Regions from separate parts of the Homo sapiens genome. Here regions 2, 3 and 4 are each linked to region 1. Evidence: promoter capture Hi-C in 16 types of primary human blood cells and fetal thymus (Javierre and others, 2016). All regions are on one chromosome and are shown on one strand. The core of a region is centred on a gene start or on the middle of the fragment in contact, and the rest is flanking DNA. Distances in the headings are between cores, read along the strand shown. Region 1 holds the start of NPHP4 (nephrocystin 4). Region 2 holds the start of WRAP73 (WD repeat containing, antisense to TP73). Region 3 holds the start of SMIM1 (small integral membrane protein 1 (Vel blood group)). Region 4 holds the start of CEP104 (centrosomal protein 104).

Evidence for each region. Contacts are between HindIII fragments. The CHiCAGO score rates a contact against its expected background, and 5 or more counts as called.
Region 2: the fragment with the promoter of WRAP73 here is called in contact with the fragment with the promoter of NPHP4 in region 1 in 3 of 17 cell types (fetal thymus, endothelial precursors and neutrophils); the score reaches 7.3 in fetal thymus.
Region 3: the fragment with the promoter of SMIM1 here is called in contact with the fragment with the promoter of NPHP4 in region 1 in 1 of 17 cell types (endothelial precursors); the score reaches 6.5 in endothelial precursors.
Region 4: a contact is called between the fragment with the promoter of CEP104 here and the fragment with the promoter of NPHP4 in region 1, in 1 of 17 cell types (fetal thymus). The highest score is 5.6, in fetal thymus.

What each region holds. Positions count from the first base shown.
Region 1 is chr1:5,990,755-5,994,132 of GRCh38, reverse strand. NPHP4 (nephrocystin 4) reads left to right here and starts at 1,708. Exons shown (of 30, transcript NM_015102.5): 1 at 1,708-1,889. It also overlaps a transcript of KCNAB2 not described here. RefSeq lists enhancers at 359-408, 2,285-3,139 and silencers at 1,159-1,408, 1,489-1,668, 1,709-1,878, 2,029-2,208. The HindIII fragment of the contact is 3,854 bases long and covers 670-3,378 here.
Region 2 is chr1:3,648,460-3,651,837 of GRCh38, reverse strand. It overlaps WRAP73 (WD repeat containing, antisense to TP73), which reads left to right and starts at 1,735. Exons shown (of 12, transcript NM_017818.4): 1 at 1,735-1,907. The coding sequence starts at 1,839. RefSeq lists an enhancer at 671-1,514. The HindIII fragment of the contact is 11,564 bases long and covers 1-2,626 here.
Region 3 is chr1:3,770,898-3,774,275 of GRCh38, reverse strand. It overlaps SMIM1 (small integral membrane protein 1 (Vel blood group)), which reads right to left and starts at 1,527. Exons shown (of 4, transcript NM_001288583.2): 1 at 1,488-1,527; 2 at 1,095-1,213. CCDC27 (coiled-coil domain containing 27) reads right to left here. Exons shown (of 12, transcript NM_152492.3): 12 at 2,631-2,875. The coding sequence ends at 2,753. RefSeq lists enhancers at 148-663, 664-1,179, 2,466-3,144 and a silencer at 1,241-2,120. The HindIII fragment of the contact is 1,777 bases long and covers 517-2,293 here.
Region 4 is chr1:3,855,502-3,858,879 of GRCh38, reverse strand. CEP104 (centrosomal protein 104) reads left to right here and starts at 1,669. Exons shown (of 22, transcript NM_014704.4): 1 at 1,669-1,991. It overlaps DFFB (DNA fragmentation factor subunit beta), which reads right to left and starts at 1,404. Exons shown (of 7, transcript NM_004402.4): 1 at 1,163-1,404; 2 at 36-162. The coding sequence starts at 1,276. RefSeq lists silencers at 523-572, 1,503-2,002 and an enhancer at 1,183-1,362. The HindIII fragment of the contact is 29,508 bases long and covers 1-3,378 here.

The DNA of each region.
Region 1 (3,378 bases), core at 459-2,958:
CGACAGACAGTGGGACAGCTGTGGCCTGAACTTGGTGTTCTTGCTCCTCGGATGTGGATGTATTAATTTCCATAAATGCTAATAGCCCACTTCCCCAAGAGCTATTACTTATGTCATCTCCCCTTGGACACAGTTCAACACAGGGCAGACAAATGAAAGGGAGGAAAAGACAACCCCCAGTGGCGGTCCCCAGCTCCTCAGCCCCCTCCCAACCAGGCAGCTCAGGTCTGGTTCCTAAGGTGGCCCTGCTAACCGCAGGGTCAAGACCCCTGCCTTCAGCTCCGTAGCCAGGTCCCTATCACGACAGGAAGCAAGAAAGTTACCAACCCCAAAAATGCTGAATCACAAAGTGAGGCTGAGCAGGAAAGTGGGGGTGGGGAGGGAAGGAGACGGTGGCCAGGGAGGAAAGGTGCTAAGGGGCTTTCCACCTGGAGCACCCCGGGATGCTGCGGGCAAAGCACAGTCCCTGTAAGAGCCCCCAGGACAAATGCCAGGAGGAGGGACACCAGGATGCGGCTGGTTGGCGGGGTGGGAAGGTGGGCAGGTACCCCGGCTGCTGCTAATGCCGCAGGACGCGGTGCAGCAGTGGGGTCTTTGCATCCTGGGAGCAGCAGCAGGTAGGGAGGTGCGGAAGTGCTTTGTGCCAAGGCCTGGCAGGAGGGAGAAGCTTAAGATAGGAGTAGGGGCTCAGGGTCAGAAGTGGCGGTGTGTGTGCTGTAAACAGCCCGAGGAACTGGTGCAGGAAGCAGGGTCACAGTCTTGGGGAGCAGGGTAAGGTGGTGAGAGCGTGCCCGCGGGGAGAGGTCGGAGGGGCTGGGGGCAGAATGGGAGGGTGGGGAAAGGGACCGGAGCGACACAGGGACAGGCAGCGAGAACGACGGATGAGCCTTGAGAAGCGATCAGGAGGAGAGATGGGGAGGACCGGGAACAGCAGCGCCCCGGTGGGGCTGCGCAGAGGCCGGGAGAGGGGATGAGAGGAGGATGGAGGAAAGGGGAGGGCGAGGCTGCTAGGACCGGAGCGGGCAGAGATGGGGAAGAGGTGCACCGGGAAGAGGGACGGCGGCAGGGGCAGGGGTCAGGGATGCGAGCTGAAGGGTCGGGCGGGCGGGAGGACAGGGAAGGAAAGACAGAAAGGGATGGGGGAAGGGAGACGATGGAGAAGGAGGTGAGGAGGCTGGAGAGGAGGTGAGACAGCGGCGGAGGCAGGGACGCAGGGCCGGGGAAGAAGAGATGGAGACGGGACCGCGGCGCCTGCCGCAGCGCGGGCCTCGCGGATACCCGCCGCCGCCGTCCCGGAGCAGCTTGGTGGAAAGCGCGCCCCGCCGGGGTCTCCCCGGTACTCACCTGGGGGCTCCAGCTCCGGATCCTGTGCCCCGCGCCGGATCTTCCTTCCCGCCCTGCCCCTGCGACTTTAGCGCCCCCGAATCCCGCTAGCTCCTGCAGGTTCCGCCAGCAGCATCTTCACCTCGTGGGACGCCCGGGGCCACGCCTCTTCCAGCTTCTGATTGGCTATTGTTCACGCCAGTCACATTACCATTGGTTGAGGGGTCGTCGGACATGCAAATCAGGATGGGCCCGCCGCCGCACCGATTGGCTGGCGCTCGCAAAGCGCAGCCCTCGACTTGGGCTCTGATTGGCTCCGCGGCCCTGACGGCGACAGTGACGCGAGGCGGGTTCTTGGACTGAGTGTGCGGCGCGGTGCGCCGCCTTCCGAGGCTCCTCCCGCGGGTGGCAGCGGACGGGGCGCGCCCCTCGGCCAGTCCTCGGTCCTCAGGCTTGTGGCTCCGTTGAGCACCGGCCGCCGGGCCTCTGGGTCCGTCGAGTGGAGACTCTCTGAAAAGCGTGGGCTCCGTGGCCTCCGGCGCGGCCGCGGCGGGTCGGTCTCCTAGGTAACGCGGCCCGCGGCGGGCGGAACCATGTGGGCCGGCGCCGCGGGGGAGGTTGGACGCGGCCTCGAGGCACAGGGGGCCTCAGTGTTGGCCAGAGCCTCGGGGTTCGGGGGTAGGGTGGTCCACGCCGTCCCTGCGTGGGGGCCCGGTGCCTGGGGTGCGGCGGTGGCGCGCGGCGGGGGCTGTCCCCGCGTTAGTCGCAGGCGTCCCCCCTCGTCGGGACACTTGGGGTCGGGGCCGCTGGGTGCCGTTTGGCTACGTGGGTTCCTTTCTGCCCTTGCCCTTTGCCCCCTGCCCCCTGCCCCCTGCCCCCTGCCCCCTGGCCTCTCTGCAGCCCCTCGGCTGAAGGGAGCGCGGTACCGATGTTCTGGGCCTTGGCTCCCCGCGCCCTAGTCCGCGCGCATCCTTCCCAGGCCGGAGTCCGCGGACCCCGCCTGGCCGCGCCCCTCCGCCCCTCCTCCCCGCCCCCCGGCTCCAGCTCCGGCTCCGGCTGTCAGTTCCCCGCGGTGGCTCTGCGGCCTTCGGGCGTCCCTGCGAGGCTTTGTACCCGGCGCCGTCCCGGCCTTCTGCGCCCCTTTCCTGCCTTGGAACCTCCCGGCCGACCCGGCCCGGAAGGCGCCACCCGCTCCCGCGTGCCCTTCCCCACGCGTGCAGGCTGCTCCCGCCCGCCCCCGGGCTTGCAGGCACCTCGCTGCCCGAGATTCCTCGTGTCTAACTTCTTAGGAGACCGCTGCTTTCTGCCTCCGTGTGTCGCGATGTGTGGCTTTGGTGGACGTCTGTGAAGGAAATCCAGCCTCTCGCGTGTGTAGTTGGCAAAAGGAGGAGTATTTCTGTTGATGGTGGGCAGCGCCTCCCGGTCCTAACCCAGGGCTCCGTTCGTTGCACCTCCTCTGTGCAGTTTCCGTAGGTCACACTTGTGTCTTTTTGTATGCTAATTTGTGCCCCGTTTCTTTACATTCTATGGGGGTAGCGAGCTTGTCTGCTGTGTTCAAGACCGTTTCTCCCGGGCGCAGGGTAGGTGCTGAAAGAATGCTCATGAATGAGGGAATTCCAGGCAGTGCTTAATCAGACCTCTGCTTCCCCAAAAGCTCCCCAAGGCATCTGGGTCTCAGGCATTACACATTTTCCATTCCGGGAAGGAGGCTTCCCGGACCCTGACAGCGCCTCCCACCCCCTGCATCTTCCTTCAGCCCTGCTCACCTCTGCACCCTCCCGGGGGCCTGTTGCTGCTCACAGTCACTTTCTTGTCTTTCTCCCCCACTGGCTTTCTAGATGCTTGAAGACAGCACATTTGACAGCCTTCTTATGCACTGGAACACAAGTGCTCGGGAAATAGTTGCTGAATAGATCAGCAGAAGCAGAGATCTCAAGGAGATTTCACAGCTCTCATTTTGGAGGTTGGAAACAGGTGGGGAGGCTGCGAATCTGTCCTGAAGTTAAAGAGGAGACAGCATTAGCCCTGGGTTCCTTTGGTGCTCTTACTTTTTCC
Region 2 (3,378 bases), core at 486-2,985, 2.3 Mb after region 1:
GCTCTCCCAACCCCAGCCGGAGTTTGGGCCCCACGTCCTTCCAGGGGTCACCCAGGACGCGAACACTCCCGGGCGGCGGCCAGCACCCTGCTCCCTCCCCCGGCCGCCGCCTGTGGGCTCGGGCTCTGGATCCCGTTCGGTGTTTGGAAGGAGCTCGCGGGCGTCGGTGCGCTTGGAGTTGTTCTCTGCGCGCACCAGACCTGCGCTAGGTCAGGCCGAAGCTCTCTACCGGCCAGCGACACCCGCCGCCCCGCCCGCCTGCTCCTCCTAGGCCATCGGGGCTTCCAGGGCCCTCGACCACGTACACCAGGCCCTGGCTAGGGGACCCGACATGCTGGGCGAGTTCCGAGCGGCTCTCAGTGGCGGCGCTGCTTATGGTCTGATGCTTATGGGGCCCGTGATCTGGCTCCGAACCGATGTCCTCTGCCCATGGTGACCCCCACGTCTTGGAAAGTCGCGTCAGTGAAGCCCGTGGCTTCGCGAGCGAGCCGGGCTGGCGCAGACTGGGTTCTCTGGCCGCAGCGGGTCCGCGCCTGACGGGGAGGGTCCGGCTGACTCGCACATCTTCATGGCTCACCCACTGTTTGCTGGGCGCACGGGGTGGGGACCCAAAGACGAATCCCATGCAGAGGTTTGGGTCTAGTTTTGGCAACAGAAAAGGCCGGCACCGCCGGAGTAGGACGCGCGCGCACCACCATCCATTCGGCCGGGGAGGTTGGGGCGTCCGCGGGGAGCAGACCCGAGGCTGGGCGCCCGGAGGTACGAGCAGGACCCTGGCCGGCTCTCAGCTCCCAGAACCCAGGGCCAGGCGGGGATGTCAGGGTCTGCGCGATCTGGGGGGCCCTAGAGGCGCCGGCGGGGCCTGGCGCGGACTACTAGCGGCCTGCGGGAGCCAGGGGTGGAGGGGGCCGCTGTCTAGGGAAGAGGACCGGGGTCCGGAGTGGGGGTGAGAACGAGGCACGCCCCTGAGCCTGCGAAACCTGCGGACCGAGCGCCCGCGCAGGAGCTCGCTCCCTCTGGGCCCCCAGGTCCCAGACCCGCACGATTCTTCGCCCGGTGCCAGCCCAGATGCGCGCGGGTGATGAACGGGCGGTGGCCGCGATCCACGCGCTCGCTCTGCCCAGTCAGCGGCAAATTCGTTCTCTCCTTGATCTCAGTGGCACTGGAGCGTGAGGCAAGGGCCAGGCGGCAGGTAGAGGGGTCGGACTCAGCAAAAGCAAACAAAACCCCAAGCAAACGAAATAAATACTTATACATTACATACACGATATAATATATGTGCGACAGACACCGTATTACTTATTAAAGATATATTTGTAGGTAAACATATATTTACATGTAAACATACATTTACATATAAATATAAATATATATATATGCATGTGTACACACACGCAGACACACAGGTCGCTCAATTAAATTTGAATTTCAGACTAGCGAGTAATTTTTCCGTATTAGCATGTCCCGTGCAATATTTGGGAACATACTTATAACTAGATTTGTTGTGAATCTGAAATTCAAATTTTACTGTGCTTTCTACATTTTTATCAGCAGCCCTAGCTGGAGGTGCTCAAAGGCCTCCCGGCCTTTGAGGTAAGGTTCTCGGGTCGGAAATCCCTGGTCGGAAGAAACGTGGGCGTTTCCTTTAAAGCCCTGCGGCACAAGAACTACAAGCCCCACAATGCCGCGCGGAAGCCGGCGGCGCTGATAGGCTGCAGTTCACTTCCGCCTTCTGACTTCCGGCCTCGGAGGCCGGCGTCGGCTGTTGCAGCCTGCTGCGCGCCCAGGGGTCCCGCGGGTTTTCGGGCGCAGGGTGGCGCCCGCGGCAGGCGGCGGCCATGAACTTCTCCGAGGTATTCAAGCTCTCCAGCTTACTCTGCAAGTTCTCCCCGGACGGCAAGTACCTGGTGAGCGGCGGGGACCTGGGCCACGGGCAGGACATCCTCGGTGCCAGCGTCCCCGGCGGGCAGGGCCGGGGGCGGCCGCGTGGGTGGAGGCAGCTTGGGGATCCTGCAGGTGCGGTGCCCGGACAGGTGCGGGGCCCGGGCAGGTACCCGGGGCAGGTGCAGTGTCTGAGCAAGTGCCCCAGACAGGTGCGGGACCCAGGAAGATACCCTAGACAGGTGGAGGGCCCGGGGAGGTGCCCCAAGCAGGTGCGGGGCCCAGGCAGGTACCCCAAGCAGGTGCGGGGCCCAGGCAGGTACCCCAAGCAGATATGGGGGCCGGACAGGTGCAGGACCCCGGCAGGTGCCCGGGCAGGTGCGGGACCCAGGAAGATACCGTAGACAGGTGGGGGGTCTGGGGAGGTGCCCTTGGAAAGGTGGGTATCGGCAGTGCCGACTGCACACAGGTGAGGGTATAGGAGATGTCGGCTCTTTGTTGTTACTTTGTCACAAAAGGCAAATTGATGATTCTGTTGCCTGTAAACTGGTAAGTGGTGTGGCTACTTTGTCATCTCTACTTCTCCTCTAATTCTCTTCTCCTCTACCACATGCCGAATAAATGATTTAAATACTAGTATTCTATCCCCAGGTAAGGAAGTAGTTGTCCTCATGGCTGGGATTTGAGGTCTTCGTTCCATGGGTGGCAGAAGGGTGCTTAAATCACAGAGCTATAACTTTAAGCTTCAAAACATATAGTGTATGTACCTGGATGCCTAGTAGTGTATATCCTCAGAAGAGAGGGATAACCCGGATGCCTAGTATGTATGTCCTCAGAAGAGGGGGACAATTGGCATTGGAAAGCCACTAAGAAGAAACATGCCTCGTAAAAAGTGGGCTTCGTTTTCCTTATCCACCACCTGTACTAACTGACTGATGTATCATGATGCTTTTTCAGGTTTTGCCACTCCTGACATTCCTGTGCTCTGTCTAGCTTTTGAGAGTTTAACTCTCAAATTACGTTTTTTACCTCTTCAGGGAGGTTTTATTCCAAATCACATAAAATAGCATCAGCTACAAAACAGAAAACCTCATTAGTTTAAATGGCATCTCAGCCTTGGTATATTTTCAATGTGCCCCCCTCCTCAATTAAATGAGAGGTTTGTTTTTTGTTTTTACCATTTATGAAAATTTCAGTGAATTATAAGGAGAAAGATTACATCTGCTTGCTTAACTTGGGTGTTTTTTTCCAGCTTGTACACTCTGGTCAAAATACCCTGAAACACTTGGTAATGATCTGTTACTGGAATCATCTTCTTGAAAGCCCTGAGGACTGGGGAGAGCAGGTCCATGTTTCTAGTTTTCATATCTTGCAGTAGAGTTTATGTGGTTCCTCAAGGTGTTGGTAAAAATATTCCATTTCATAAGGAATTCACTGTAACTGATCACAGTTTTCAAAGCTACAGTGTGAGAAAGTAAGTGCTGTGGTAGCTCCTTG
Region 3 (3,378 bases), core at 278-2,777, 2.2 Mb after region 1:
GCTGGGCCCCCAGTGTCCCCTCTCAGCATCTGGCCCCCAGGAGTGGGGTCCTCGGGCAGGCAATGGCAGGCCCCTCACTTCTAGGAGCTGAGGCTTTGCTGGGCCCCCTCCAGCGGGGAAGGCTGACCTTCCTCCCAGGTCATCGGCACAGAGGCCTAAAGGCACAGCAGCCACTCCCCTGCAAGAAGCCAGCTCAGAAACTCAGGCCCCAGGCAGTTCTGAGACTCCCGGCACTTCCATGTCTGCCTTCCCCCAAAGCCCAGAGAGGCAGAAGGAGCTGTCTCAAAGCCATAAAGTGTGCCTTCGGTGGGAGCCCTGGCTCAGTGCAGCCTGGCACTCAGGCCCGGAGAGGCCCAGCCTCTACTGGAGTATGGGTGCTGTTTTCCCGGAGCATGTGGAGCGGTCAGCTGCCTACCCGAGGTTCACGCCCTCTTGCCTGGTGTGCAGAATCCCATTCTGGTCCCAGCAGCAATGTGCCAGCCCCAGGTAACAGCCATGACCCGGGTAAGACAAGCTTAATACCACCACCCCTGCTTTCCCAAGTCACCCAGCTGGGGTCCAGGAGCCAGGGTGCAGCAGGGGATGGGAGAGTTTGCTTCTGTGAAAGCAGCAGCAGCCACCTCCTTCTTCCAGACTCGACGTGATGGCTGGAGCTGCTGGAGCTGCAGCAGCCGCCTTGCAACCCGACATCCACGCAGCATTAGTCTCGGGAGTGCTGAGGCTCCAAGTCCACAGCAGCAGCCCACCATGGGCCTCCCGGTGGGAGGGGTCAAGCCCAGTGTGTTCAACTCTGGGATCATGGGTTCCTGTCTTGCTGACGTAGAACACGTTGTTCCCAAGTCACCCCGGTGCACAGCCACCAGAGCCGGCCCTTGAGGCTGGCCTCCCTCACTTGCTCAGTAAACGTCTCTCCACACTCATGTGATGGTCACAGGTGTGGCGGCAGGAACCCATCAGGGACTCCCCTCCAGGCCCTGGGAGGCTCCCGGATCCTGGCACCTCCTGGGGGCTTGTGAGTGCAGGAAGGCCCTAGGTACACAGGCGCCCCTCCATAGACCTCTTCACCCCACAGCGCCTCAGGGCCCCACACTTACCCGGAGAACCTTGCCTGAGGGCTGGGGCCTCTGGGCCAGGTTGCGGTCAGGGCCTGGCCAGCGGCCCGCACCTCCCAGCGGGGCAGGTCGTGGGCTGAGGTGCGGCAGACGCCTCGAGCCTAAAAAAATAAAGGTGACCGGAGAAGCCGATCTTGCTAAGGGCCGGGAAGGGAAAGTGGCTGGTGTCGGGGGTCCCCAGCAGCCACAAGGAGCCGGGCAAGGAGCCGGGCGGGCAGTTCCGGCCCTGGCCCCGCACCGCGGGTTAGGCCGGTGGGGGTCAGTCCAGGGCACGCCCCCACCCCCGCCAGTTCTCAGCCAGCGAGGCCGCGCACAGTCGCACCTGCCCACTGCGGCCGCACCGGGAAGCCGCAGCCCGGACCCCGCGCGCCTCACCTGTGTCCCCGCGTCTCTGGGCTCCGCAGGGGCCGGGCCTGGGCAGGGGGCGAGGGCGGGGGCGGGGCCACGCGGGGAAGGGCTGGAGCCAGCAGCGGGGAGGTGTCTGGTCCGGAAGGTGGCGGGGCTAGAGTGGTGGGCGGGGCCATGCGGGGAAGGTCTGGGGCCAGTAGCGGGGAGGCGCCTGGTCCAGAAGGGGCCGGGGGCGGGGCGAGAGGGGGCGGGGCGAGAGGGGGGCGGGGCCATGCGGGGAAGGGCTAGGGCCGCAGCGGGGAGGCGCCTGGTCCAGAAGGGGCTGGGGGCGGGGCGAGTGGGGCCGGGAGACGCCTCGTCCGGAAGGGGCCGGGGCTCTAGGCCGCCCAGCCCCGGGGCCAGGAGGTGCAGGGGGGCCGGGCAGGGTCTGCAGAGGGCTGCACTTTCTGCCCCCAGACGGCTCGCCCTTGGGGCCTCCAGGGTCCCCGACCTCCTTCACCCCTGCTGGAGCCCCTCCGACGCCACGAGCCTCCCAGCCCCGCGGGGACCCGGCTGCAGCGCCGACGAGACTGCGGGAGGCTCTGGGCGCGTCTGGGCCTGAATGCTGGGTTCGGGGACCCGGCCGCGGGGACCGTCCTCCTCCGGGGCTTGAGGGGCGTGGCGCCCGCACGTGGCCCACGCTCGGTGCTCGCGGCGGGAAGGGAAGCAGGTGTGGGTGGGGAGCAGAGAAGGGTAATGGGGAGAGTCCCTTCCGAAGGTGTTCAGGCGCCCAGAGCCTCAGAGGCGCCGGGGAAGCGTCGGGGACCACAGACACCGTTCCCGTGCGTAAAGCTTTCCTTCCAGGAGCGGGGGGATGGGAACAGAGCCCCCCACCCTCACCATCTTCCAGAGGGGTCCTCCAGCAAGAGAGTGCCCCAGCCAGGAGAGCCCCCAGGGCAGAAGGTCACAGACCCCTTCTGCTCAGGCGTGAGGTCTGTGCTGAGTGCTGGGCGGACACCCCGGCTCAGGCCTCTGGCAGCCTGGTGCCGCAAGGGGACCTGTTAGGAGCTAGGGGCACAGGCTGGTGTGCTGACTCCCTGTGAGTGAGCTTTGGAATGGGGAGTGTCCTTGTAGCTCAAGGTCGCAGAGGAGAGTAGGCCCCCGCGTGGATCCCAGAGAAGAAAAAGGTGGGACAGTGCCAACACCGGGGTTTAATTCTGAGTCTGAGAGCAGGACGCATGGTGGGGGCGGGTGGTTCTGGAGCTGGGCCCCGGCCTCTGCTGGGCTGACCGTATTTGGGGGCCTGGCTGGGCCTACTTGGAGGTCCCCTTCTTGGATTTGCTGGTCAGGAAGGCCTCTGACTGTTGCAGGGGGGGCACTTTGACGCCTTTCTGCTTCAGCTGATTATAGTAGTCGCTTCTCTCTGAGATAATTCTCTACACAAGAAACACAGCCGTCGAGGTGGCCTTCCCAGTTCCTCACCTTGGCCTTGAGGCCGGTCTGCACAGTCCGTGCCAGCTGCCCGGGACGCCACCCTCTCCTCCTCCTCCAGAGAGGCTTGCTGCAGCAGGGGTGTGCTGGTGAATACTTACAACCGGCTCTCCAGGGGGAGAAAAAACAAACAACCCTCGGCTTTGTGGCGTTGCCAGTTTCTGTGGTGGGAATATTCCCACAGTGGCTGATTTTCAGCCACGGAAGTGAAGTCACAGAATGCGGAGCCGGGGGCAGGTGCACACCACCAGCCCGCAGAAGCCTGCACTAAGCCCCCTCTTCAGCCCTCTTAGAGTTGTGAGGAGCCCCAGACTCCTAGAGATCTTTGAGGTCGTCACATCTGTCCCTCAAGTCCCTTCTGTCCTGTACAGAGGGAATGTTGTCCCCACCTCTCTTCCATTCTCCTCTCTGGGCCGTTGCTGGTTCATGTCAGGCTATGGCAAGCAAG
Region 4 (3,378 bases), core at 420-2,919, 2.1 Mb after region 1:
GCTTCCCGCCCACCTCCAAAGTCCTTGCCACTCACAGCCCTGCCAGGCCTGGCCCAAGGTGAGCAGCACCAGCTCGGCGTTGTCGGGAACACTGGGGAAGTAATCTTCCGTCAGCTCCGTGCCATCCTCGTACAGGCACAGCCGGGAACCGCGCTCAGGGAGCTGCAGGGACGGGAGAAGCAACAGGAGGAGGAAGGGTCTCAAGACGAGGGCTTTGCATCTGCAGGCCTCACAAACGACCGGAATGAGCTGTGCTTAAAGAAGCAGGCTCAGGCTGCCGCCTGTATGCCACAGTCGCTCCAACGCCCAGGCAAGGATGAGGGAGCGGGAGCAAGGGCGCCTGACTGCGGGCCGTTCTAAAATACGAAGAGTCAGGAAAAACATACATCAGGGGGTGACTGCTGGCTCTGCAGGATTCACCCTTTTTAAATGAGCTCCTGAGGGCGCTTCAAATAGAGCCTGTCTTTGACAGCGCCGCCTCCCTGCTGCCAGGAGCTGAACACCACCATCCCCAGCACACAGCCGCCAGAGCGGTGCTGGCACACGAAGGAGAACGGTTGGTTGCCTCTGTGCACAAGTGTGACCGGCACGTGGCACTGTTAATTTGTTGGAGTCCGGTTCCCTGTTACTCTGCACTGGTCAGTTTTAGGCATTTTATGGCTACTCCCACCCCACCCGCACCGACCCCGGCAATGCACACCTGGTAACCCTAGTACTGGTCTAAAAAGAAAACCAACCTAGAATAAGGTGACGATTGCAATCCCCAGCTGCGAGGGCTGGAAGGGGCCTGCAGAGCCCACCTAGCCAAGCCTTTCATGTTACTCAAGGGGAAGCTGAGGCCGGACAGGCAGAGCAGCCGTGACCCCGCGTGCCAGTACCTGGCACTCTACCCGGGTCTCCTAGCTCTGATGCAGGGCTGTCCTGCCCGAGAGGTGGGAAGAGGGAAGGGGTGATCCAGGTCGTCCCCCAACCCCCCTGCGTTCTGAAGCCACGCTCAGGAACCCCAGGCTGCGGGGGCCCGGGGTCCTAGCGGCTGAGGCGAACGAAAACTACCCGCCCCGGGCGCCGCCTGCACCCTCCGTTTTGGAAGAGGAAAAGCGGCACCTCCTATTCTCCCCACACGCCTCCCCGACGGGCCGTCCCCGCCTAGCCCAGCGGGCACCTGGAAGCGGAGACAGCCCTTGCGCAGCACCTCCTGGCAGCTCCGGCCAGCCACGCCGAACTTCCTCGGGCTGCGCAGGGCCCGCAGCTTCACGCTCTTGGGCTTCTGGAGCATTGCAGATGTCCTCAAGCCCTCTGGGTCCCACAGGCGGTGGCACCTGCTGCCCAGCTGCTCAGATCCGTCCTCGCCCTGGCCGCAGGGGTCTGCACCTGGTGAGCTCTGCAAGCTGGCACAGGCCGGGTGCCGATCCCGGAAACTACATTACCCAGAAGGCCTGGGAAAAGTGAGGCCCGACGCGGTCTTGTGCGCAGGCGTCGCCCCACGGACACCACATTACCTTACTCAGAAGGCTCAGGAAAGCAAAGGCGCGACGCCACCTGGTGTGCCCAGGTGCCGTGGCCCCGGAAACTACACAACCCTGAGGGCCAGAGTAGCGGAGCCCTCCCCTTGTGCGCAGGCGCGGCCTGGGGTGGGGCGGGGTCGCGCACGCGCAGAGGCCCTGGCCCAGGGCTGGGCTTGGTTGTCATGAGAGTGGAGGCTGCGGCCGGGGCTATGGGCAGAGGTGGCCGGGTCTGCTTCTTCCCTGTCACTGCCGCAGCAGCTTGGGGTGCAAGGCGGCCTGGGGCGGCGGAAGGGGCGCCCCCCGAGTTCCGTCTGAGGAAGCGGCGGCTGCCGAGGAAGTCCACGAGAGCCGGGTCCCGCACGCCCCTGGGGTCCGGGTGCTGAGGCGCCGCCTGGCCGCCTCCCCGGGCCGCGGCACCGCTCCGACCCAGCCGCCCTCTCCACCGGGGCCGCGGCAGCGCCAGTCGGGGCCCTTCCCTCTAAGCAGGTACCTTCCGGGCCGCTGCGGCGCCGGCCCAGGGCCGGAGTGGGGAGCGGGGCGCGGGGCGCGGGGCGCGGGCGCCGCGGGGGCGCGGTCCCCACCTGGGAGCTGGGTACGAAGCCTGGGTGCGCGGTGCAAGCGCGGACGGTGTGGAGTTAGATGCCGGCCTTGCTGTCGCCGAAGAGCCGGCGCGGCCCCGTCGTGCCGTATGCCGGGGAGCTCAGCACGGGTGCTGGGACCGCCTGCCCCGGCCGGGACGGCCCATTTAGCGTGGAATATTGTTTTCAGATCCGGCTTTTCCTCTTCTGGATGCGTAGCACATAGGGGGCCAGTTTCAGATGTGTTCTGCTGAGCAAAAGTTTGAGGAAAATTGCTCTGTCCCTATAGAGATTAAAGTCTGATGGTTGGTTGTTTTTTGTTTTGGAGTTTGTTTTGTTTTGTTTGCACTTAAGTTCAGATTTCTCTGAAGCCCTTTCAGTCGCTAAGATGACTTGATCAGAAACCCATAAGCCTTTGAGACGGTCTCGCTCTGTCGCCCAGGCTGGAGTGCAATGGCACGATCTCAGCTCACTGCAGCCTCCGCCTCCCGGGTTCAAGCGATTCTCCTGCCTCAGCCTCCCGAGTAGCCCGACTAATTTTTTTATTTTTAGTAGAGACGGGGTTTCACCATGTTGGCCAGGCTGGTCTCGAACTCCTGACCTCAAGTAATACGCCCTCCTCGGCCTCCCGAAGTGCTGGGATTACAGGCATGAGCCACCGCGCGCAGTCACACTTAAAAGTCTTCTTAAAAAGAAAATCAGAGACAAGTTTTGTTTCCTAGTCTTGTAACAAAATGGAAGTTGCTACACTGAGTTTCCGTTTAATTTATAGTTAATTGCCTTTTACCATGCCAGCACTAGGAAAAGTGTAGTGAGGGATGAGACCGCCATGGAGTCATCGCTGCCTGGGGAGAGATGTACTCTGGCATTTGTCGGGATGTCGATGGCTGCCCCTGGGACAACAGGGATCCCTCATGCCTCTGGTGAGGAAGACCAGCCAATAACTGGATGTTCAACAGAGCTTTGCTTCTTCCCAAATTGTTAATGGTGATTTTTATAGAGCCTAAAAGTGGCATCCTTCAGTGACATTCCAAGTATCTTATGTAACACTTGAAGGTTTACACAGAGGGGACCCTAGGGTACAACTGGAAGGTCTTTGGGAGGGGGTAGACTAAAAAAGGAATCCTTTTCAAATACCAGACTGAGGTAATAGCATTGCCTCCACAGTCCCTGTGCATTTCTCTTAGCTGGTTCTTAAATGCCAGTACTTTGTTTTAGATTTGTTGGGGGCAGTATAGCATACTGGAAACACCCTTCTGTTTGACTGAAAAGGTCCTATATTTATGTCTTCGAGC